Linked DNA regions of Homo sapiens: all the other regions are linked to region 6. Evidence: promoter capture Hi-C in 16 types of primary human blood cells and fetal thymus (Javierre and others, 2016). All regions are on one chromosome and are shown on one strand. The core of a region is centred on a gene start or on the middle of the fragment in contact, and the rest is flanking DNA. Distances in the headings are between cores, read along the strand shown. Region 1 holds the start of CD27 (CD27 molecule). Region 2 overlaps CLSTN3 (calsyntenin 3). Region 3 has its middle 29 kb from the start of CD27. Region 4 overlaps NCAPD2 (non-SMC condensin I complex subunit D2). Region 5 holds the start of VAMP1 (vesicle associated membrane protein 1). Region 6 holds the start of GPR162 (G protein-coupled receptor 162). Region 7 overlaps LTBR (lymphotoxin beta receptor).

Region 1 (2,950 bases), core at 407-2,906, 380 kb before region 6:
GAAGTGATATGTAGAAAAGAGGAGATGGGCTTTGGCCCAGAGGACAGCAGCGTTAGGCTAGTGAGCAGTTCCCAGTCGGTTCAAGGTTGCTAGGCTCAGCGAACTGCAAGTCCCTGTTCGACAAGTTTCTTCCTAAAGGTCCCCAGTTCCTCATGATTCTTCTGAGGGTCTCATCCACCCTCCCAGGGCCTGCAGTCAGCTAGCCACCCCACTGCCCCATGCCTGCAGTGAACACATTTACCACAACCTGGAAATGGCTGGTGACAGAAAAGTCCTCACGGCCACAACACTCTCTGCGGTGGGAATTCAGGTGCCTTGCCTGATGGTGACAAAGCTGGTTTTGCATAAACAGCTCTCTGAATCACACCCAAATGTGGCTTCTGACTTGAGTGGACCCCCATGAAGAGCTGCAGAGGGGGCTGGGAAAAGACAAGAGAATGGAGAAAATGAGGAGAAAGGAAACTACAGAGTGAGATAGAGAACAGATCTGACAGGTGTGACCACAGCAGTGTGACATTTATGAACAGTGTGGAAACAACGGCAAAGCCCCTAAATTAAAAACTTCCTGGGGAAATAAGCCACTCCACATATCGGTTGCTGAGGAAAGAGTGGAGGAGGCTGTTGACCCGTGTGTGTCCCCATGACTCAAAGAGGGAAAAGTCTAGCTGTTTCCAATATCCCGAAATCAGTCTTGCTGGGAGAACTGGGAAAATAAAAAAGAGATGACCCCCGTAGGAAGCTACCTTTAATCCCAAGTGCCCAAGGCTAGGAGAGAAGATGCTCCAGGCGATCCAGGACACCAGTGACTGACACAGCCAGAGGTGGGAAAGGGGAGGATAAAGATGGCACAAAAGTGAGGAGTGAGCAAGGGTCTGAGAGGGAAGGCCATGTGGGCAGTAGGTGGCACCCACATCAGAGACTGACATGAGGATTAAAGGAGAGCATAGGTGATCGGTCAGAGTGTGACAGAAGAGAGGCAGCTCTACACCCCTTGCTTGCAATTCTGAGCATTCTGTAGCAAACTCGTTTGGCCATCAAACCAGACCTCAATTGAGACAAGGCTATTTAAGCTTCCTCCCAGTTGGTGTAAATATTCAATAGTTTTGCTGCAGAAATGTTGCGTTTGATTATGAGACTACCCCAACTCCCCAAGGGTGTTTTGTGGTGCTGGTTTCTGTATAAACCTGAAAAATTCTGAATTCCAAAACTTATCTGACCCCCAAAGTTTCAGATAAGAGCTTGTGGACCTGTGCTCAATTCTGGTTCTCCTTCCTTCTTTCAACTGTTGTCTGTGAAAGGAGGGATGCAGGTATGGGAGACAGGAGTCCTGCGAATTCGTCTGTAAACTGTGGACGGGGGGGTGGGTGGGGGGGGGTAACGTGGGCACCTTTGTGCACAAGTGCATGAATAGGAGGGGTGAGCAACTGTGTGTCCATCACCTTTTTGTCAAAGAAGCAGGAGTCAGTGGGCTACGTGCTTCATGAGCAGGAGAGGCGGAAACTAAGGAAGGCTCATGTGTTGGAGGAAGCATGTTTGAAGAGCAGCAGGTCTCACAGAGTTTGCTCTTTAATACTCTCCCCAGCACACGGAAGGGGAAGGGGGTGGAGGTTGCTGCTATGAGAGAGAAAAAAAAAACAGCCACAATAGAGATTCTGCCTTCAAAGGTTGGCTTGCCACCTGAAGCAGCCACTGCCCAGGGGGTGCAAAGAAGAGACAGCAGCGCCCAGCTTGGAGGTGCTAACTCCAGAGGCCAGCATCAGCAACTGGGCACAGAAAGGAGCCGCCTGGGCAGGGACCATGGCACGGCCACATCCCTGGTGGCTGTGCGTTCTGGGGACCCTGGTGGGGCTCTCAGCTACTCCAGCCCCCAAGAGCTGCCCAGAGAGGCACTACTGGGCTCAGGGAAAGCTGTGCTGCCAGATGTGTGAGCCAGGTAAGAGGGGGCCTTGGTAAGGGCCAGGTGAGTGGCGAAAGAGAGAGGACTGGGGTTAATACAGTAAATAGGCGCAGGGTGAGACTGAGCTCAAGCAAGGAGGGAAATCCTGCAGCTGTGGGGAGGCACCACCTTGAAGAGGGCAGAGAACCAGCCCTTCTCAGGCCTTGATCCCTTACCCTCTCCTCCCAGGAACATTCCTCGTGAAGGACTGTGACCAGCATAGAAAGGCTGCTCAGTGTGATCCTTGCATACCGGGGGTCTCCTTCTCTCCTGACCACCACACCCGGCCCCACTGTGAGAGCTGTCGGCACTGTAACTCTGGTGAGGTGGGCAAGGGTGTGTAGGTGGGGACGATGGACAAGCATCTGGGGGAGCAAGGCTGGTGACGGGTTTGGGGGTGCAAGGAGGATGACGGGGCCAAAGCTTTGGCCTTCTTCAAGGCTCACAGCAAGTGGAGCCAATGCTGGGAAATGCGGCACCCTAGGTGGGGCATGAATTAACGTGGGCAGACATCTAGTATTCCAGGAAAGGGATAAATAGAATTTGAGGGATTGGTGAGAACGGGTCTATGGATAGGATCAAGACAATAAAATGAGAGAAGTGGCTCTATGACCCCAGATTTCGGGCAAGCAACCCCCAACCAATAAACTGACTGTGTTCCCAGAGTGCACATGTGCAGGTTGGCCATTGGGAATTTGGAATACATCTTTCTAAGGAAATAACAAAGCAACCCAATAGGTAACAACCTTTTTTTGCACAAAAGCCAATTTGAGAAAATGAGTATGTATGTAGCCTGTGTTTTTATTTTATAGTTCCAAAAAAAAAGGTTTTTTTTAAACTAAGAAGTATAATATCTGCAGTTGTGCTTATGAATGCTGTTATTATTTCTCCATCTTCGCTACAATTTCAGAAACTACGGCCAGTATACACTAGAATAGCAGGCTTTAAAGTGGCCCCTTTGAACAAATGTTCTCTAGCAAGACACTTTTTAGAACCAGGTAACTGTAACTATTA
Region 2 (2,748 bases), core at 23-2,522, 330 kb after region 6:
GGACTGGCTCCCTTCTTCCTTGCTGTCCCTGAAAACAACCGCAGAGGCTTTTGGGAGGGAGAGACAGGGTCTTGTTCTGTCGCCTAGGCTGGAGAGCAGTGGTAATCCTAGCTCACTGGAGCCTCGAACTCCTGAGCTCAAGCAATCCTCCTGCCTTAGCCCCCTGAGGAGCAGATGCATGCCACTATGCCTGGCTATTTTTAAGACTTTTTATAGAGACAAGGTCTCACTTTGTTGCTCAGGCTGGTCTTGAACTCCTAGGCTCAAGCGGTCATCCTGGCTCAGCTTCCCGGAGTGCTGGGATTACAGGTGTGAGCCGCCGCACTTGGACTTGCAGACGCCTTTTTCAGTGTTCTACTGTGATTCACTATAGCAAGTAGGTGGAAGTGAGGATTAGCGGGGAATATAAGGCATAACCAAGCTGCAAAGATTAGAGAAGTTTCACATAGTATTTAGTCAATAGAGACATGTTAGCAAGCTAAACCTATTTATTTCAAATAAACTCTTGAGGCCAGCTATAAATTTTTTTCCTTCTTGTGATTCCATAGCACTTTCTCCAGTTCTTTCATTGGGGATCATTCCACTCAATCTTTTCTGGTTGGATACTAGGTCCTGCTACTCTGATTAGGCTCAAGGTAGATAGGGGTGCTGCCTGGCCTGGTGAGATTCTCGATCCTTACTTTCTTTGGTATAAGGCCCCAGGTGAGAGACTTCTTGTTCTAGGAGCCCAGCACCTTCTCCCCTGAGTGTCCAGCTGCCCTGCATGGGCTGGTCTGGCGGGCAGCGTTTCTCACCCCTCAGCCCCTGGAGGAGTGTCTGTTCACGGCACCCTTTCACCTCCCCTCGGTGAAGCCCAGTCTCCCCATCCTTTGTTCTGAGCTCATGTCCAGGCTGATCAAGCTTCCCTCAGATTTCAGTTGAGAGCAGCAGTTTTCCTTTGCTTCTTCTCTTATTTTGACCTGAATAGGACACAGAGTTCGTAGCTTCCCTGAGGGCACTGGTGATTGGCATGCCTGAGCTGACAGGCCATTCACGGCATAAAACCCTTTCCATATGCCTTTTCTGACTCCGCAAGGTGCTCCCTCCCTTTCACCTACAAATCTCGAGTGGTGTTGCAGAACTGTGGTTTCACAATATCAAACCATTCTAAACATGCAGAAGCAGTGAGAGGTACGATCTCCTCCAGTGGCACGGAGGCCCATTGCTCTAAATCTCCTAAGTGCACTAGAGAAAGAGAGATGAATGTGAACTGGAACCAGGGTAAACTGGAACAGTCAGGGGAGATTTTGTGGCACATGTAGAGTTTGCATTTGGACCTGAACTGTAAAAGGGATTTTTGGATGGGTGTGAGAGAGAATGGGAATTTGAGAACCGGGGGTAGATAGGTGGTTAAGAGTGTTTATGGTTAGAGAGAATAAGGTTGGTTGAGAAGAGCAAGCCGGATGATGAGGGTATTATGTATCTACTCATATCAAATTTTGATGACTGCCAGAATCACCTGGGGAGCTTTAAAAACTCTCGGCACCTAAATTATACCCTAGAATGTCTAGGGGGTGGGAGCCACGTGTCAGTGGTTTTTAAAAATCCCATGTAATCTTTAAAAGTTTGGGAATAATTTTCCTCTTTTGTTTCCTACAAGTATCTGAAGCTTTGCAGAAAGAGTTACAAAGCAATAGGACAAAAAGAAAATGAATGAGGAAGTAAGGAGGAACAGGTAATGATGAAATAAGGATCCAATGAAGCCAGGGAATAAAGTCAGCTCATAACATGCGTACTATGAGATGCTATGCAGTTGCTACCACGGGCCAGAATTTTGACCCTGAGCTTCTTCAAAGCTAAAGCAAAAGGAAACCTGAGCAGTTCTGAGAGCCGTGATAGGAGCCAAACGCTATTTCATGAAAAGCCCTGGGAGTGCGGGGGGCAGAAAGAAATCTCTCCCAAGGCTCTTTGCAAAGAGAGCACCGTGTGGGGCCATGGACAGGGCTTTCCACTGTCCTCGCAATCCCATGGACCATTTGCTAAGTCACCCCTTAATGTTGGCTCTGGAGGTCATTCAAGGCCAGAATTAACTGCTCAGATCTCATGTAGCAAGAAAAGCTGAACGCACTTCTTAAATTCTTGATTTTTATCTGTAGCTGATTTAAAAATCCTCCCATCTCCCCGGGCTCCTGACTCATCTTAAACTAATTAACCAGACTTGTTTGCTTGTAGATAGAGTGTCTGCATTTTGTCTTTCCTGTGGTCATTTCTTATTGTCCTGGCAATCAACTTGTCATTTCCTTCATTAGGCCAGGAGCTCGGAGGGACACTGCATTGATTAGGGCGCAAACCAGCTTTAGCTCGTCATCGTTGTGTGCTTAGAGGAAGTTCACCTGCTTTGGCCTCCACTCTGAGGGTGGGGTCACCACCCCTTCTGGAGCCTGGGCTTAGCCACTGGGCCCATCTGCCAGTGAAGGCACTGCCCCTGGCTCTGGTCTGTTGACGTGGAGACCTGAGAGACACTATTTCCTGCAGATGGGCAGGAGAGACAGCTCTGTCCCCTCCTCCCTTATCCCCCGTTCCCAGGAAGTTGAGAAATACTGATCCAGCCAGTCCTGTCTTCACCTTGGAACCAGTGTCGAGGGAGTGTGCCCCAGCAGAGTCCGTTCTAATTGGCTGGTGGCCTCAAGTGGGCTGTGGGTCAGGATGGGGACCAACTTGGCAGACAGCCATCAGGGTGGCCTCAGGGAGGTGTGTGGCCTGCCCAGG
Region 3 (2,864 bases), core at 59-2,558, 410 kb before region 6:
GTCTTGATTTTTTTCTTGGTTAGTCTCACTAGAGGCTTACCAATTTTATTAAGCTTTTCAAAGAACCAGTTGTTGGTTTTGTTGATTTTCTCTACTCATTTCCTGTTCTCAATTTTATTGCTTTCTGTTCTAATCGTTATATTTCTTCTCTTCTGCTTGCTTTGGATTTAGTTTACTCTTTTTTTTCTAGTTTCTAAGGTAGTTGATTGTATAATAAATCTTTCTTCTTTCCTACTATAATGCATGCAATGCTATAAATTTCCCTCTAAGCACTACTTTCGCTGTATCCCACAAATTTTGATAAGTTGTGTTTTCATTTTCATTAGTTCAAAATATTTTAAAATTTCTCTTGCGATTTCTTCTTTGACCCACGGGTTGTTTGAATCACATTGTTTAATTTCTAAGTATTTTGAGATTTTTCAGCTATCTTTCTGTTATTGATTTCTACTTTAATTCATTGTAGTTTGAGAGCAGGCATTGCATAATTTCTACTCTTTTAAATTTGTTAAGGTGTGCTTTATGGTCCACAGTGTGGTCTATCTTGGTGAATGTTCCATGTGACTGTAAGAAGAATGCATTGCTGAGTGAAGCAGTCTACAGATGTTCATTATATCCAGTTATTTATGGTGTTGCTGATTTCAACTACATCCTTAATGATTTTCTGCCTGCTGGATCTGTCCATTTCTGGAAGAAGGATGTTGAAGTCTCCATCTCTAATAGTGGATTCATCATTTCTCCTTGCAATTGTAACAATTTTTGCCTCATGTATTTTTGATGCTCTGTTATTAGGTGCAACACAGCAAGGATTATGTCTTCTTGCAGAATTGACCCCCTTATCATTATGTAATGCCCCTCTTTCTGCCTGATAATTTTGCTTACTCTGAAGTTTGCTCCATCTGAAACTAATGCCCCTCTTTCTGCCTGATAATTTTGCTTACTCTGAAATTTGCTCCATCTGAAATTAATATAGCTACGCCCACTGTTGTTTTTTTTTCCTTTTTTTTTTTTTTCAAGATGGAGTCTTGCTCTGTCTCCCAGAGCTGGAGTGCAATGGCGCAATCTCAGCTCACTGCAACCTCTGCCTCCCGGATTCAAGTAATTCTCCTGCCTCAGCCTCCCAAGAAGCTGGGATTACAGGCACACGCCACCAGCCCTGGCTAATTTTTGTATTTTTAGCAGAGATGGGGTTTCACCATGTTGGGCAGGCTGGTCTCGAACTCCTGACCTCATGATCCACCCGCCTCAGCCTCCCAAAGTGTTGGGATTACAGATGTGAGCCACTGCACCCAGCCCCACTATGTTTTAATTAATGCTAACTATATCTTTCTCCATCCACTCACTTTTGGTCTGTATGTGCCTTTATATTTAAAATGGGTTTATTGTAGACAACATATAGTTGGGGCTTTTTAAAAATTCATTCTGACAGTCTCTGTCTTTTAATTGATGCATTCAGACCCCACTGACATTCGAGGTGATTATTGACATAGTTGGATTCATACCTATCATATTTGTTACTGTTTTCTCATTGTTGCTCTTGTTTGTTCCTACTTTTATCTTCCGCTCTTTTTCTGGCTTTTGTAATTTTAAGTGAGCATTTGTATTATTCCATTTTCTCTCCTTGCTCTTAGCATATCAGCTATACTTGTTTTTTTTCCATTTCTTTTATTTTAGTGATTGCTCTGGAGTTTACAATATACAGTTAAAACTAATCCAAGTCTGCTTTCAAATAACACCATACTACTTCACATGTAGTGCAAGTACCTTATAATAACAAAATAATCCTAATTACTTCCCCCATCCTTTGTATTACTACCATCATTCATTTTACTTATGTGTAACATATATATATATGACCAAATACACGATGCTATTATTATTTTGAACAAACTATTGCCTGTTAGATCAATTAAGATCAAGAAAGGCCGGGTGCAGTGGCTCACTCCTGTAATCCCAGCACTTTGGGAGGTCGAGGCGAGTGAATCATTTGAGGTCAGGAGTTAAAGACCAGCCTGGCCAACATGGTGAAACCCTGTCTCTACTAAAAATTAAAAAAAAAAAAAAAATTGGCCAGGCATGGTGGTTCACACCTGTAATCATAGCACTTTGGGAGGCCAAGGCAGGCAGACTGCCTGAGCTCAGGCATTCAAGACCAGCCTGGGCAACATGGCGAAACCCCGTCTTTACTAAAAATACAAAAAATTAGCTGGGTGTGGTGGTGCACACCTGTAATTCCAGCTACTTGGGAGGCTGAGAGGGGAGAATCACTTGAACCTGGGAGGCAGAGGTTGTGCTGAGCCAAGATCGTGCCACTGCACTCCAGCCTGGACAGCACAGAGAGACTCTGTCTCAAAAACATAAAAAATAAAAATAAAAATAAAATTAGAGAGTCCAGAAAATTAAAACGAGAGAGTCCAGAAAATTCTCACAGCACTAAAGTCTTATAGGGAAATCAGTTCTTTCCTTCATCCTTCTAAGAGATTCACTCATAGGTTCACTAAGCACCTGCTGGCATCAGGTGCCATGCTAGGGACAGGAATGTCTGCGACATGATTCCTACCTTCAAGAAGCTTGTAGACTATTGAAACAAACAAACATTGATACAATGTGTAACAGCATATGAAGCACAAGTTCTATCACTTTTAATCCTCATTACAACTCGCCATTTCCTCCACTTTTCAGATGTGGAAACTCTTTGACCACAACCTTCAATTCTTGCTCAACCATTCCCACTATGCCTCAGCCCCTCGCTCAGGACTGCCAGTCCTCTGCCTCCTCTGCTTGGTTTGCAGGCATCAGCTCCTTCCATTTTCACTTCCCTTTCTGTCCATCTTACATCCTATAGTCCACTGTTTTTGTCACTTTTG
Region 4 (2,832 bases), core at 269-2,768, 320 kb before region 6:
TTGCACTTTGGGGCCATTATTAAGTAAAATAAAGGTTCCTTGAACAGAAGCCCTGCAACAGTTGATCTGATAACCAAGGTGGCTACTAATGGGTGAGTAGGGTTGCATATACAGTGTGGATATGTTGGACAAAGGGATGGTTCACATCCCAGGCAGGAGGCGGCAGGGCAGCACCAGATTTTATGCTACTCAGAATGACACACAACCTACAATTTATGAATTGTGTATCTCTGGAATATTTCTTTCTTTCTTTCTTTTTATTTTTTTAAGATAAGGGTCTTGCTTTGTTGACCAGGCTGGAGTGCAGTGGCTCAATCTCAGCCCACTGCAACCTTCACCTCCTGGGCTCAAGCAATTCTCCTGCCTCAGTTTCCCAAGCAGCTGGGACTACAGGTAAGTGCCACCACGCCTGGCTAATTCTTGGGGGGTTTTTTTGTTGTTCTGGAGACGGAGTTTTGCTCTGTCGCCCAGGTTGGAGTGCAGTGGCAAGGTATCGGCTCACTGCACCCTCCACCTCACAGGTTCAAGCAATTCTCCTGCTTCAGCCTCCCAAGTGGCTGGAATTACAGGTGCCCACCACCACATCCAGCTAATTTTTTTTGTATTTTTTAGTAGAGCTGGGGTTTCACCATGTTGGCCAGGCTGGTCTCGAACTCCTGACCTCAGGTGATCTGCCCAACTTGGCCTCCCAAAGTTCTGGGATTATAGGCGTGAGCTACTGTGCCCAGCCTATTTCTGGAATATTTCATTTAATATTTTCAGACTTGAGATTGACCACGGGTAACTGAAACCCCAGAAAGTGAGAACACAGATTGGTGAGGACCACTGTGTGTAAGATGGTTGTAAGAGCCAAAGAGAAAAATAAAGAAGACAGTGTGGCCAGGCGCAGTGGCTCACACCTGTAATCCTAGCACTTTGGGAAGCCAAGGTGGTTGGATTGCTCAAGCTCAGGGGTTTGAGACCAGCCTGGCCAACATGGTGAAACCCCATCTCTACCAAAATTACAAAAAAGTTAGCCAGGCGTGGTGGTGCACACCTGTAGTTCCAGCTACTTGGGAGGCTGGGGTGGGAGAATTGCTTGAGCCCAGGAGGCAGGGGCTGCAGTGAGCCATGATCATGCCACTGCACTGCAACCTGGCCACAGAGCTAGACCCTGTTTCAAAAAAGAAAAAAAAAGAAGTGTACTGGGAATGGTGGCTTGTCCCTGTAATCCCAACCACTTGGGAGGCAGAAGCAGGATTGTTAAGGCCAGGAGTTCAAGACCAGCTTGGGCAACATAGTCTCTAAAATTAATTATACAAAGCTTAAAAATAAATAATATAAAGAAGAAGATAGTAGGACCTGTCATTTCATGTTGGATCATCAGAGAAGGCTTGCTGTTACGTCACGTTTGAGCAGAGACCTTAAGAAAGTAAGGAAATAAACTATGCAGATTGTTAGGGAAGAGCATTCCAAGCAAACAGAAAAGCCTATGCAAAGGCCTTGAGGTGGGCAAATGCCAATAGAGTTGGAGTGCATTAAGCTAGGAAAAAGAGATTAGGTAGGAAGTGGTACAGATTATTCTAGAATCTTGCTCCTCAAAATGTGGTCCTCAGATCAGCAGTGTTAATATCAGGATCTCATGATCTGGGAGCTTATTAGAAATGCAGGATGTCAAGGCCCAGGATGTCAAAGCTGCTGAATCAGGAAATCTGTATTTTAAGAAGATTCCCCCAGGCAATTTGGATGCAATTATAAGCTTGAGAAGCACTGATCTCTAGAGCCTCGTAGATCATGGCAAAAACTTGAACTTCAGTGTGAATGAACTTGAAAGCCATTGGGTTTTGAGCATGGGAGTGACATGGTCTGACATTTTAAAAGATTCACTGGCGACTGTGTTGAGCAGAGACTATAAGAGGCAAGGAGAGAAGCAGGGATACTAGTTAAGTGGCTAATACAGTAATACCAAGTAGATTGGACTGGAGGGATAGCAGGGGAAGTGGTGATAAAACGACTCAGGATATATTTTCAAAGTAGAGCTTTTACAGGAATGCTGATGGATTGGATTGGATTATAGGGTTAGTAAAGGAATCTGAGATGAGAATGATTACAAGGCTTTTTTTTTTTTTTTTTGACAGTCTTGCTCTGTTGGCTCTGTCACCCAGGTTGGCGTGCAGTGGCGTGATCTTGGCTCGCTGCAACCTCTGCCTCCCAGGTTCAAGCAATTCTCATGCCTCAGCCACCTGAGTATCTAGGATTACAGGTGTGCACCACCACGCCTGGCTAATTTTTTTTTTTTTTTTTTTTTTTTTTTTTTTTAGGCAGAGTCTCGCTCTCTCGCCCAGGCTGGAGTGCAGTGGCACCATCTCGGTTCACTGCAAGCTCCGCCTCCCAGGGTCACGACACCTGGCTAATTTTTGTATTTTTAGTAGAGATGCGGTTTTGCCGTGTTGTCCAGTCTGGTCTTGAACTTCTGGCCTCAAGTGATCTGCCTGCCTCGGCCTCCCAAAATGTTGGGATTACAGGCGTGGGCCACCACACCCGGCCTTACAAGGCTTTTTGACTTGAGCAACTAGAAGAATGAAGTTGCCATTTACTGAGATGGGGTAGCATATGGGAGGGAGAGGTTTAGATTGTTGGTTATGTGAGTGCAGAGTTCAAGGGAGAGGTTGTCAGCTAAAGATACACATTTAGGATTTAATACTCAGCGTGTAGACAGCACTTAAAGCCATGAGATTGCAGTGAGTGTAGATGGAGAAGAGCAGCAGTTTGAAGACCAAGACCTGAGACAGTCCAGCATTTAGAGGCTAGGAGGATGAAGAAGAACCAGTAGAAGAAATTAAGAAGCAGTCA
Region 5 (2,716 bases), core at 1-2,500, 350 kb before region 6:
ATCGGGAGCTTGGGGCGAGAGTTGTCAAGGAGGTGCCGAGCCCCCACACCAGAGTCAACTCACATTTTTCTGACAGAGAGAGTGAGGGTCTGTTCCTCTCCGGAGGCTGCGGCGAGACACCCGGTGAGGGACGCTGCGGCTGAAGTGGACGGAACTGCCAAGCTCCGCCTCGCGCCGACTACCCCGCGGTCTAGCTGCGCTGGAACTTACTGCAGCTGCCGCGCCGGCCTCCGCCTTTATTAGTGCTGACCACGCCTCCCGGATAACGGTGACAACCCCGCGGCCCAATCCATGCCCAGGACGGTCGCCCAGCGCTACAGGCCTAGCCCGCCCCGCCCCTGCCAATTGCCAGTCACAACTCTCCTCTCATCCGACTCCGGAAAGGAGCGGTTGCTGTGAGGATCCTTCAGTGATCAATGCGACCATAGTTTGCGCTCCAGTCTGGCGGAGGGACGGGGCGGGGTGGAGATGAGGTCTGTCCCTTCGGAGGGCGCTTCAGCAGTTTGTTAGGCATTTGTGGTGCCTCCCAACCAATCGCTAGGCAGTTACTGAAGACCGTGCCCGCCCCTGCCCCACCCCGCGCCGGGACTCGCGCATTCAGCTGGAGGCGGCGGCTTCCTGGTGCGCGCCCAGCCCTGGTGCCCTGCTCTGGCCCTCGCTCCGCACCACCGCCCCGCCTCTAACTAACGCTCTGAGAGGGTGCAGGAGCCTCGAGACACAGCCACAAGCTCCTGGTGCCAGATACCGGATGCGGGGTTCCGTCCCACCAAAGCAAGCACGAAGCTTTCGTTCATTCGTTTCTTTCAACATAGCCTTCCTAAATTGAACTCCCTCCCAAACCTGCTCCAGTCGAGGTTACCACATCGACTCAGTTGCCCAGACCAGAAACGTGGAAACCATCCTAGATTTCCTCCCCTTCACCTTTACCTCTCCCCCAGTAATCTGCCAAATCGAGTTGATTTTTCCTTCTTGGCATTCCAGTGATTATCTCCCCTCTGCTCACTATTATCCCTTTCCTGGACTCCATCAGTTGGAAAATTCACCATTATTTTATGTCCCGCTAAGAAAAAAGGTTACAAGGCCGGGCGCAGTGGCTCACACCTGTAATCCCAGCACTTTGGGAGGCCGAGTCAGGCAGATTACCTGAGATCAGGAGTTCGAGACCAGCCTGGCCAACATGGCGAAACCTCTGTCTCTACTAAAAATACAAAACAGCCAGGCATGGTGGCGGGCGCCTGTAATCCCAGCTACTCGTGAGGCTGAGATAAGAGAATCGCTTGAAGCCGGGAGCCGACGGTTGCAGTGAGCCGAGATCACGCCACTGCACTCCAGCCTGGGCAACAGAGCAAGACCCTGTTTCAAAAAAAAAAAGAAAAAAGGTTGCAAATTATCTGTGACAAATGCTTTCCTTACCACTTAGCATTTTTGTTTTACATGTATTGAAAATATGGGTTTATATACATACCGATTTCTATATTTCACTCTTGTGCATGCATAAAAAGGGAAATAGAAAACAATAACATGGTAACTATCCCTAAAACTTCACAGAGACTGATTGTTAATGATTCACTTTTTTGACTCAGTCTTGGATGTCCACTAATTTCCACGCAATGTAGTCCTCTGTGCATTTCATAAGGGCTTTGGTGATGCAGCATTTCCTAAGAGTGTTCCTCTCCAGGCTCTAGAGTTTTCTTCCAAGCCTCAGACACCCATTTGGCAAGCTTTGATGCTCATGAGCAGGTATGACAAATATAGTTTGACTGCTGTCTGACTAATAGCTAAAGTGAAACATCCCAATTAGAAGATATTGAAATGCAAAAAAACAAACAAACAAGCACACACAAAAAACCCAAGTGCCTCCTAAGATCAATGATACATCATTCTGCTTCCAGTCTTGCCATCCTTTACATCTATTCTCTAAAAAGTCCACCAAAGTTATCTATCCAAATGTCACAAGTCTTCTTAAGGAAACAATTGCACTTGGAAACATAATGCATTCATCATATGTGTTTATCCCATTCTCCTCCTGAAACCACATCAAAATGGCAAGTTAGGGGGAAAAATGACAATTTGGGAAAATTTGCAAAAAATTATAAGCCCCCAAAGACAAAAAGAATGGGGCCGGGCGTGGTGGCTCACTCCCGTAGTCCCAGCTATTTGGGGGGCTGAGGCGGAAGGACAGCTTGAGCCCAGATGTTCCGGTTGCAGTGAGCCGAGATCACGCCACTGCACTCCCACCTGGGTGACAAAATGAGACCCTATCTCCAAAAGAAAAGAAAAAGGGCCAGGCGCAGTAACTCACACCTGTAATCCCAGCAATGTGGGAGGCCAAGGAGGGCGGATCACTTGAAGCCAGGAGTTCAAGACCAACCTGGCTAACGCAGCAAAATCCCGTCTCTACTAAAAATACAAAAATTAGCTGGGCATGGACGCCTGTAGTCCCAGCTACTCGGGAGACTGAGGCAGGAGGATCACTTGAACCCGGGAGGCGGAGGCTGCAGTAAGCCGAGATCTTGCCACTGCACTCCAACCTGGGCAACAGAATGAGACTGTCTCAAAAAAAAAAAAAAAAAGAAAGAAAGAAAGAAAAAGAAAAGAAAAAAGAATGGGAGGAAATATTTCTGGCAGCATGAATGCCTATTTATTCCCACCAACTTTCCCCTGAAAAAAAACTTAAAATCATTGAATGGTGACTCACGCCTATAATCCCAGCATT
Region 6 (2,854 bases), core at 34-2,533:
GACCATTCAGGACACAGGGAAATCAGGGTTACAAATCTTCTTGATCCACTTCTCTCAGGATCCCCTCTCTTCCTACCCTTCCTCACCACTTCCCTCAGTCCCAACTCCTTTTCCCTATTTCCTTCTCCTCCTGTCTTTAAAGCCTGCCTCTTCCAGGAAGACCCCCCTATTGCTGCTGGGGCTCCCCATTTGCTTACTTTGCATTTGTGCCCACTCTCCACCCCTGCTCCCCTGAGCTGAAATAAAAATACAATAAACTTACTATAAAGATGCTCTTCGTGTGTGTGTGTGTGTGTGTGTGTGTGTGTGTGTGTGTGTGAGAGAGAGAGAGAGAGAGAGACCCCTTCTCTGGGGACCAGGAATCTTCTGGTCTTTGGGGTCGGACCCAGAGGAGAGGTTGCTGGGCGTGCCCCAGGAAGGAGATGAAGTTTCCCTGGAGAGGGAAAAATTCTGTGGAGGCTGGCTACCCACCTCCACAACCCACAGGGCTCTGTGTGGGCCTGTGTGTGTGTGAGGCTGAGACTCTGTAATTACATGTGTGTGATATACCGTGGGGGAGAGACTCAGGGTTGTGTGAGCTCTCCTGGTGTATGTGTGTGGCAGAGAAAAAGGACTATGAGAAACTGTAACATGTGTGTGCAAATTGTATCCCCAACATATGTGTTTGTGTTCCAGGAGGAGGAGGCAGAGTGTGTGTGTCTGTGTGCATGCATGCGCCCACATCCTTTTAGCTTGTGCACAACCACCCCCAACTCCACAAGCAGCCCCAGTGTGCACCACAAGCCCCCTCACTCCCAAACCCAAGGCCCAGCCCTCACACAGATACACACAGTGACACACGCTTCCTCCTCCCCGAACAGCTAGCTCCTCAGTCCCCAACAACACCAGCTGCCTCTTGGAGCTTGTGTTCGTGTTGAAAACGGGAAGGGGTGGGGGCAGGACATGAACCATTTCACCAATGAAGCCGGTTCCCAGCCATCCTCCTCACCGCCCTCCCTCTCAGCGCCTTCCTTGCCCCTCCTCCCCGAGTCACCACCGTCCAGTTCCCCACCCTGCACTCGTTTCCCGCCCCCCCCCGCCCCCCACAAAGCTGTCCTGCCTTCCCTCTGGCCTGGGCTCACTGGCAGGACGACCCCGGGAGAGAGGGTCCTGGAGAGTGAGAGGGGCAGAGACCGAGTGAGCCGTGGGCTGAGCCTGGGAGGCCGGGACTGAGGGGGAGGAGGGAGGCCCGGGGGAAGGGAGGGAGGGAGAGAGGGAAGGAGGGAGGAGGGCGGGCGAGCTGGAGCCGGCAGGCAGCGGGAGCCCGAGAGAGCCGCGTCGGGAGTGCGGTCTCCATGGCAGTGCTGGGCGCAGCCGGAGAGAGGTAAGACGACCCCTGCCTGCCCCGTCCCCTGTGTTGCCTCCCTTTCCCCCTCAAGCTGCCTCCTCTCCCCTAGGCCGGCCCCTCCTCCCCAGCCACCTGCTGTTTCTGCCCTGGAGAACCTGGAGGGGGACAGGAGGGAGGAGCCGCCTGACCTTACCCCTTCACCCCAAAGGGCGAGGGACCCCGTCGGCCAGGGAACCTCCCAGATCCCCCTTCCCACCTTCCTCTGATCTCTCCCTGTCCTTCACCTCCCTCTCTCTGTCCTTCACATCTTTCCTGCCTCCTTCCCTCTCTGACTCCCTATCTCTTTCATCCTGAGCCCACCAGCTGGGCCTGGGTGGAGGTGGGTGGGAAGGGGTCCAGGGCTGTAGGAGAGGACACTGGGGGCTGCTCTTGGCCAAGTCCCTCCACCTCCCTCTGGCTGGCCATTGCCATGGCAACTAGGGTGTACTGGGCTCCGGAGGGAAGCCAAGGGTGGGGGTGGACCAGGACCTCTTGGGGAAAGCAAGGGTCTGAGCTGCTTCCATGGGAAACAGACCCTTTCACTGCTGTGCCCCATTTTTACCCCACTTACCCTAAAGCCATTATGTGCTTCCTTACAGCCCCACTCTGTTCAGGGTTTCACCCGATTCCCTTACCCCCCTTCCCAGGGCTCACTGAAGCTCAGCATCACGCACTAAAACTGGGACCATCCTTCCTCCCATGAGAGGGAAACTGAGGCTCTGGGCCAGGGAGGAAGAGTCAAGGTCTCCCCACGGGGAGTCAGCACCTTATTGAACATTTGGCTTTTCTTCTCAGCCTCCTATTCCCTGCTCCCTCCCTCCCTCCCTCCTCCAGTCCCTCCTCCCTCCAAAGCCTCCTCTCCAGGGGGTTTGAGCTTTTCCTGCTATTTTCAGATACTACCACTTTGCCCCCTCTTTCTCTTCTGCTCAAACTCTCCTCCTTCTCCCTAGTTCCCCCTCTTTCCATTTCTGGATGCTTCTGATGTCAGCGGTTTCCCCGCCTTCAGGTTCCCTAGCACCCCCTTCGGTCCCAGACTCCTTTCTCCCATTTTCCCAGATATGGGTAGCTGGAGGGTGATCACCCAGGTTTGGGGAAGTAGGGGCTAAGCACCAAGACCCCTGCATCCAGGAGACCGGCAGGTAGGGGAGGAAGGCTGTGATGCCATATCCCAGTTCACTGTGAACCCTCAAGAGGAAACCAGTCTTGTGTCTCCCATCAGTAGTTCTGAAGAGACATTTAGGGACTTGAAGATAGGGGTGGAGTAGTGCTGAGCAGGGGATGTTCTAAGAAGGAACCTGGGAGTTCCAGCGGGAGGAGGAAGGGCTAAAGGAGACAGGGAGGTGGGAATACCTTCTTCCCTAGAGGTCTGGAAGAGTGCGGCTCTCATCTGTGTGGGGTGTTTAGCTGTCAGAGTTAAGGCAAAGGAATGTTCTGAATGACCCTCAGGGCCTTAGTAATCAGTCATGCCTATAGTTTCAAGAAAGGGGG
Region 7 (3,048 bases), core at 203-2,702, 430 kb before region 6:
CCACACTTCACGTGGACTGAGGTAGACCCTGCATGAAGATGAAATTATAGGGAGGACGCTCCTTCCCTCCCCTCCTAGAGGAGAGGAAAGGGAGTCATTAACAACTAGGGGGTTGGGTAGGATTCCTAGGTATGGGGAAGAGTTTTGGAAGGGGAGGAAAATGGCAAGTGTATTTATATTGTAACCACATGCAAATAAAAAGAATGGGACCTAGATAATTTATTTTCTTGGGATTTATACAGAAACACTATTCCATGGAGACAATCTCAAAGACAAAGGTCAAGACACTAAAATATAATCCCATAAAGATATTTCAGTGAGGAGCTGGTGAGTATAGTCCAGGTAATAACAGTCTCGTCAGTGATGGCTGACAACGTGCCAGGCAGTGTTCTCAATGCTTTACAGTACTAACTTACTTAATCTTCACAATAACTCCCTAAGGTAGATATGATTCCCATTTAACAAATGAGGAAACTGAGGCACAGAGCGGTAACTTTCCCAATTCAGCTGCAAATGACAAAGCTGGGATTTGCACCTAGTTCGTCTGGCTTTTAGAGGCCTCTTGGGGAAAAAAAAGCCTTCATATACCACGCCCTTCCAGAATTTCTTTGAACGGGTAGAATGGTCTGGCCTTCTCAAATAATCAGATCTCTTGCATGTTCCGCAGGTGTTACTTTTCAGTCAACTCTCAAACATCTAGCCACACGCGAAGTGAAAAATGTTCTCCAAGGTTGATTGAAGGGAAATGTGTGCAATTTTTTTTTTTTTTTTTGAGACAGGATCTAATTCTGTCACTCAGGCTGTTGTGCAGTGGCACTATTATGGCTCATGGCAACCTTGAACTCCTGGCTCAAGGGATCCGCCCACCTCAGCCTCCCAAGTAGCTGGGGCTATAGGTGTGTGCCACGACGCCCAGCTAATTTTTTGTATTTTTAGTAGAGATCAGGTCTCCCTGTGTTGCCCAGGCTGGTCTCGAACTCCTGGGCTCAAGCAATCCTCCTGCCTTGGCCTCTGAACATGCAGTGATTACAGGCGTGAGAGCCACCGTGCCTGACCTGAGGTGTGCACTTTAGACATAAAATGAGAGAGGCCAAGTTCACATTTTGTTGGTGAACAGAAATCTAGGCTGGCCTCCTTTTGGTTCAGAAAGAGTATTTATGATTTTTACTTTTTTGGTTTCTTTTTGTCTTCTTTTATTTTTACCCCCAAAAAGGACTTTAAATCTTCTCAAGCCCTCTTATTAGTAAATGTTTGCCCCTCCCTGCCCCTGAATTCTCTCCTGTGCTCGGTCGAGAGGATCTTAGCTTGCAGGATTGTTAGGGAGCTGCTGCCAGCCGGCTGCTCCTTCCATAAAAGGCCACTCTCATGGGTCTGATATGAGGAACTCTGTCGCTGGAGCTCATCAGGGTGGGGCGGCTGCAAAACACACACCTCAGAAGGCGTCTGATCCAATGGAGTGGATGGGTCATTTAAGGTTGACTGTGAAAATATCACATCCAACTTCCTTTTTTGAAAAGTAAATAATGGTGAGCTGTATCTTTAAATAAAGTTAAATCCTCCTGCCCCTGCAATATGCTGGGGCCAGACCTCATGAATTCTTAATAATTGTTCTAATGTGTTTAGATAAAAAACAAATTTTATACATTTTTTTCAACAAAATAAAAGGAGGAAAATATTTTGAAAGAAATGATGCTGAAGCACAGCCCTTTGTGACACCATTCAAATTTATAATTATACCTGCCTGTATTTTTTTAGAGACAGGGTCTTACTGTGTCGCCCTGGCTTGAGTGCAGTGGTATAATCGTGGCTCATATAGCCTCAGCTCCTAGACTCAAATGATCTTCCTACCTCAGCCTCCCACGTAGCTAGAGCTACAGATGCGTGCCACCACACCTGGCTAATTTTTTTTTAATTTCTTTTTTAAGAAGTGGGGTCTTGCTATGTTGTCCAGGCTGGTCTCAAACTCCTGGGATCAAGTGATCCTCCCACCTCAGCCTCCCAAAGAGCTGAGATTGCAGGCATGAGCCACTGCACCTGGGCTGCCTAAATTAATTTTCTAGGGCCGCCATAACAAAGTACTGCAGACTCGATAGCTTAAGCTGCAGAGATTTATCTTCTCACAGCTCTGGAGGCTGGAAGTCAGAGGTCAACGTGTTGGCAAGGTTGGTGTCCTCTGAGGCCTCTGTCCTTGGCCTGCTAATGGTGGCCTTCCTGCCACCTATGTCTTCACATGGTCTTGCCTTTGTGCATGAGTGTGTCCTAATCTTCTCTTAGTGGATTAGGGCCCATCCTGATGACCTCATTTTAACTTAGTCACCTCTTTAAAGCCCCTGTCTCCAAATAAGGCCCCATTCTGAGGTCCTGGGAGTTAGGGCTTCAGCACGTGGATTTTGGAGGGAGACACAGTTCCACCCACAGCATTACCCATGTCTATTTTGCCAGTGTGGAGTCAGTACAGGCTCCAGGACACATCCACAGAGCACAGGCCACGTAGAGGGGAGCTCCTGTCTACAAGGAAAAGCTGGCAGAAAACCAACAAAGACAGCCTCTTGATGGTGGTCTTCAAAAGATGCAACAGGATGCAATGGCAGTTGACAATGGGGTAACTGTTGGTTGTGAGAACCCTAATCCTCTACCACAGGGAGGAGAAAGCTAACACCAAGTCCAACCCACATCAACACGGGGGTGGGACACCCGTTAGGGGGCCAAGGCTGTAGTCCAGAAGAAAGGTGGATGGAACTGGGGACAGAGCAGTAGCACAGGGAGATGGGGGAGGATGGGGTAATTCAGAATTTCCCTTTTTGAGAGTGGCATCAACACAATGTCAAAGTAGGAGTTCTCCGGCTTCTCTCCTCCCCAACAGAATTTCAACTAGCAACAATCCTGTGGCAAGTTTACCACCCTGAATATCCCAGAACTTGGAGTGAAGCTTTGCATCCCCTGGGATGGCAGAGCCAAGAAAAACCATGAGGACGGTAAGGGGATGGCTGCTTTCTGACCACGCCACTCCTCCCCAAGCCCGCACAGTGCCACACGCAGAGGAGTCCC

What was found. The method cuts DNA at HindIII sites, captures the fragments that hold promoters and counts their contacts. A CHiCAGO score of 5 or more calls a contact.
Region 1: the fragment with the promoter of CD27 here is called in contact with the fragment with the promoter of GPR162 in region 6 in 4 of 17 cell types (total CD4 T cells, activated CD4 T cells, naive CD4 T cells and 1 more); the score reaches 6.5 in total CD4 T cells.
Region 2: a fragment that was not itself captured here is called in contact with the fragment with the promoter of GPR162 in region 6 in 2 of 17 cell types (total CD8 T cells and total B cells); the score reaches 5.8 in total CD8 T cells.
Region 3: a contact is called between a fragment that was not itself captured here and the fragment with the promoter of GPR162 in region 6, in 1 of 17 cell types (activated CD4 T cells). The highest score is 5.1, in activated CD4 T cells.
Region 4: a contact is called between a fragment that was not itself captured here and the fragment with the promoter of GPR162 in region 6, in 3 of 17 cell types (non-activated CD4 T cells, activated CD4 T cells and naive CD4 T cells). The highest score is 6.4, in non-activated CD4 T cells.
Region 5: a fragment that was not itself captured here is called in contact with the fragment with the promoter of GPR162 in region 6 in 3 of 17 cell types (non-activated CD4 T cells, total CD4 T cells and naive CD4 T cells); the score reaches 8.1 in non-activated CD4 T cells.
Region 7: a fragment that was not itself captured here is called in contact with the fragment with the promoter of GPR162 in region 6 in 2 of 17 cell types (non-activated CD4 T cells and total CD4 T cells); the score reaches 6.7 in non-activated CD4 T cells.

The regions. Positions count from the first base shown.
Region 1 is chr12:6,443,299-6,446,248 of GRCh38, forward strand. CD27 (CD27 molecule) reads left to right here and starts at 1,657. Exons shown (of 6, transcript NM_001242.5): 1 at 1,657-1,933; 2 at 2,126-2,257. The coding sequence starts at 1,798. CD27-AS1 (CD27 antisense RNA 1) reads right to left here. Exons shown (of 6, transcript NR_015382.2): 5 at 248-419. RefSeq lists enhancers at 749-818, 839-888, 1,793-2,294, 1,839-1,898, 1,929-2,108 and 1 more. The HindIII fragment of the contact is 1,289 bases long and covers 1,069-2,357 here.
Region 2 is chr12:7,153,114-7,155,861 of GRCh38, forward strand. The region is part of intron 16 of CLSTN3 (calsyntenin 3); the gene reads left to right. Among named protein-coding and RNA genes, the nearest start is that of CLSTN3, 24 kb to the left of the region's middle. The HindIII fragment of the contact is 748 bases long and covers 899-1,646 here.
Region 3 is chr12:6,414,031-6,416,894 of GRCh38, forward strand. No RefSeq gene overlaps it. Among named protein-coding and RNA genes, the nearest start is that of CD27, 29 kb to the right of the region's middle. The HindIII fragment of the contact is 2,514 bases long and covers 52-2,565 here.
Region 4 is chr12:6,498,962-6,501,793 of GRCh38, forward strand. The region is part of intron 2 of NCAPD2 (non-SMC condensin I complex subunit D2); the gene reads left to right. Among named protein-coding and RNA genes, the nearest start is that of NCAPD2, 6.3 kb to the left of the region's middle. The HindIII fragment of the contact is 435 bases long and covers 1,302-1,736 here.
Region 5 is chr12:6,470,467-6,473,182 of GRCh38, forward strand. VAMP1 (vesicle associated membrane protein 1) reads right to left here and starts at 211. Exons shown (of 5, transcript NM_014231.5): 1 at 64-211. The coding sequence starts at 65. It also overlaps a transcript of TAPBPL not described here. RefSeq lists silencers at 243-292, 503-762. The HindIII fragment of the contact is 938 bases long and covers 782-1,719 here.
Region 6 is chr12:6,820,538-6,823,391 of GRCh38, forward strand. It overlaps GPR162 (G protein-coupled receptor 162), which reads left to right and starts at 1,284. Exons shown (of 5, transcript NM_019858.2): 1 at 1,284-1,363. It overlaps CD4 (CD4 molecule), which reads left to right. Exons shown (of 10, transcript NM_000616.5): 10 at 1-262. RefSeq lists an enhancer at 295-1,267. The HindIII fragment of the contact is 21,739 bases long and covers 1-2,854 here.
Region 7 is chr12:6,391,354-6,394,401 of GRCh38, forward strand. It overlaps LTBR (lymphotoxin beta receptor), which reads left to right. Exons shown (of 10, transcript NM_002342.3): 10 at 1-213. Among named protein-coding and RNA genes, the nearest start is that of LTBR, 8.7 kb to the left of the region's middle. RefSeq lists an enhancer at 1-120. The HindIII fragment of the contact is 2,950 bases long and covers 1-2,927 here.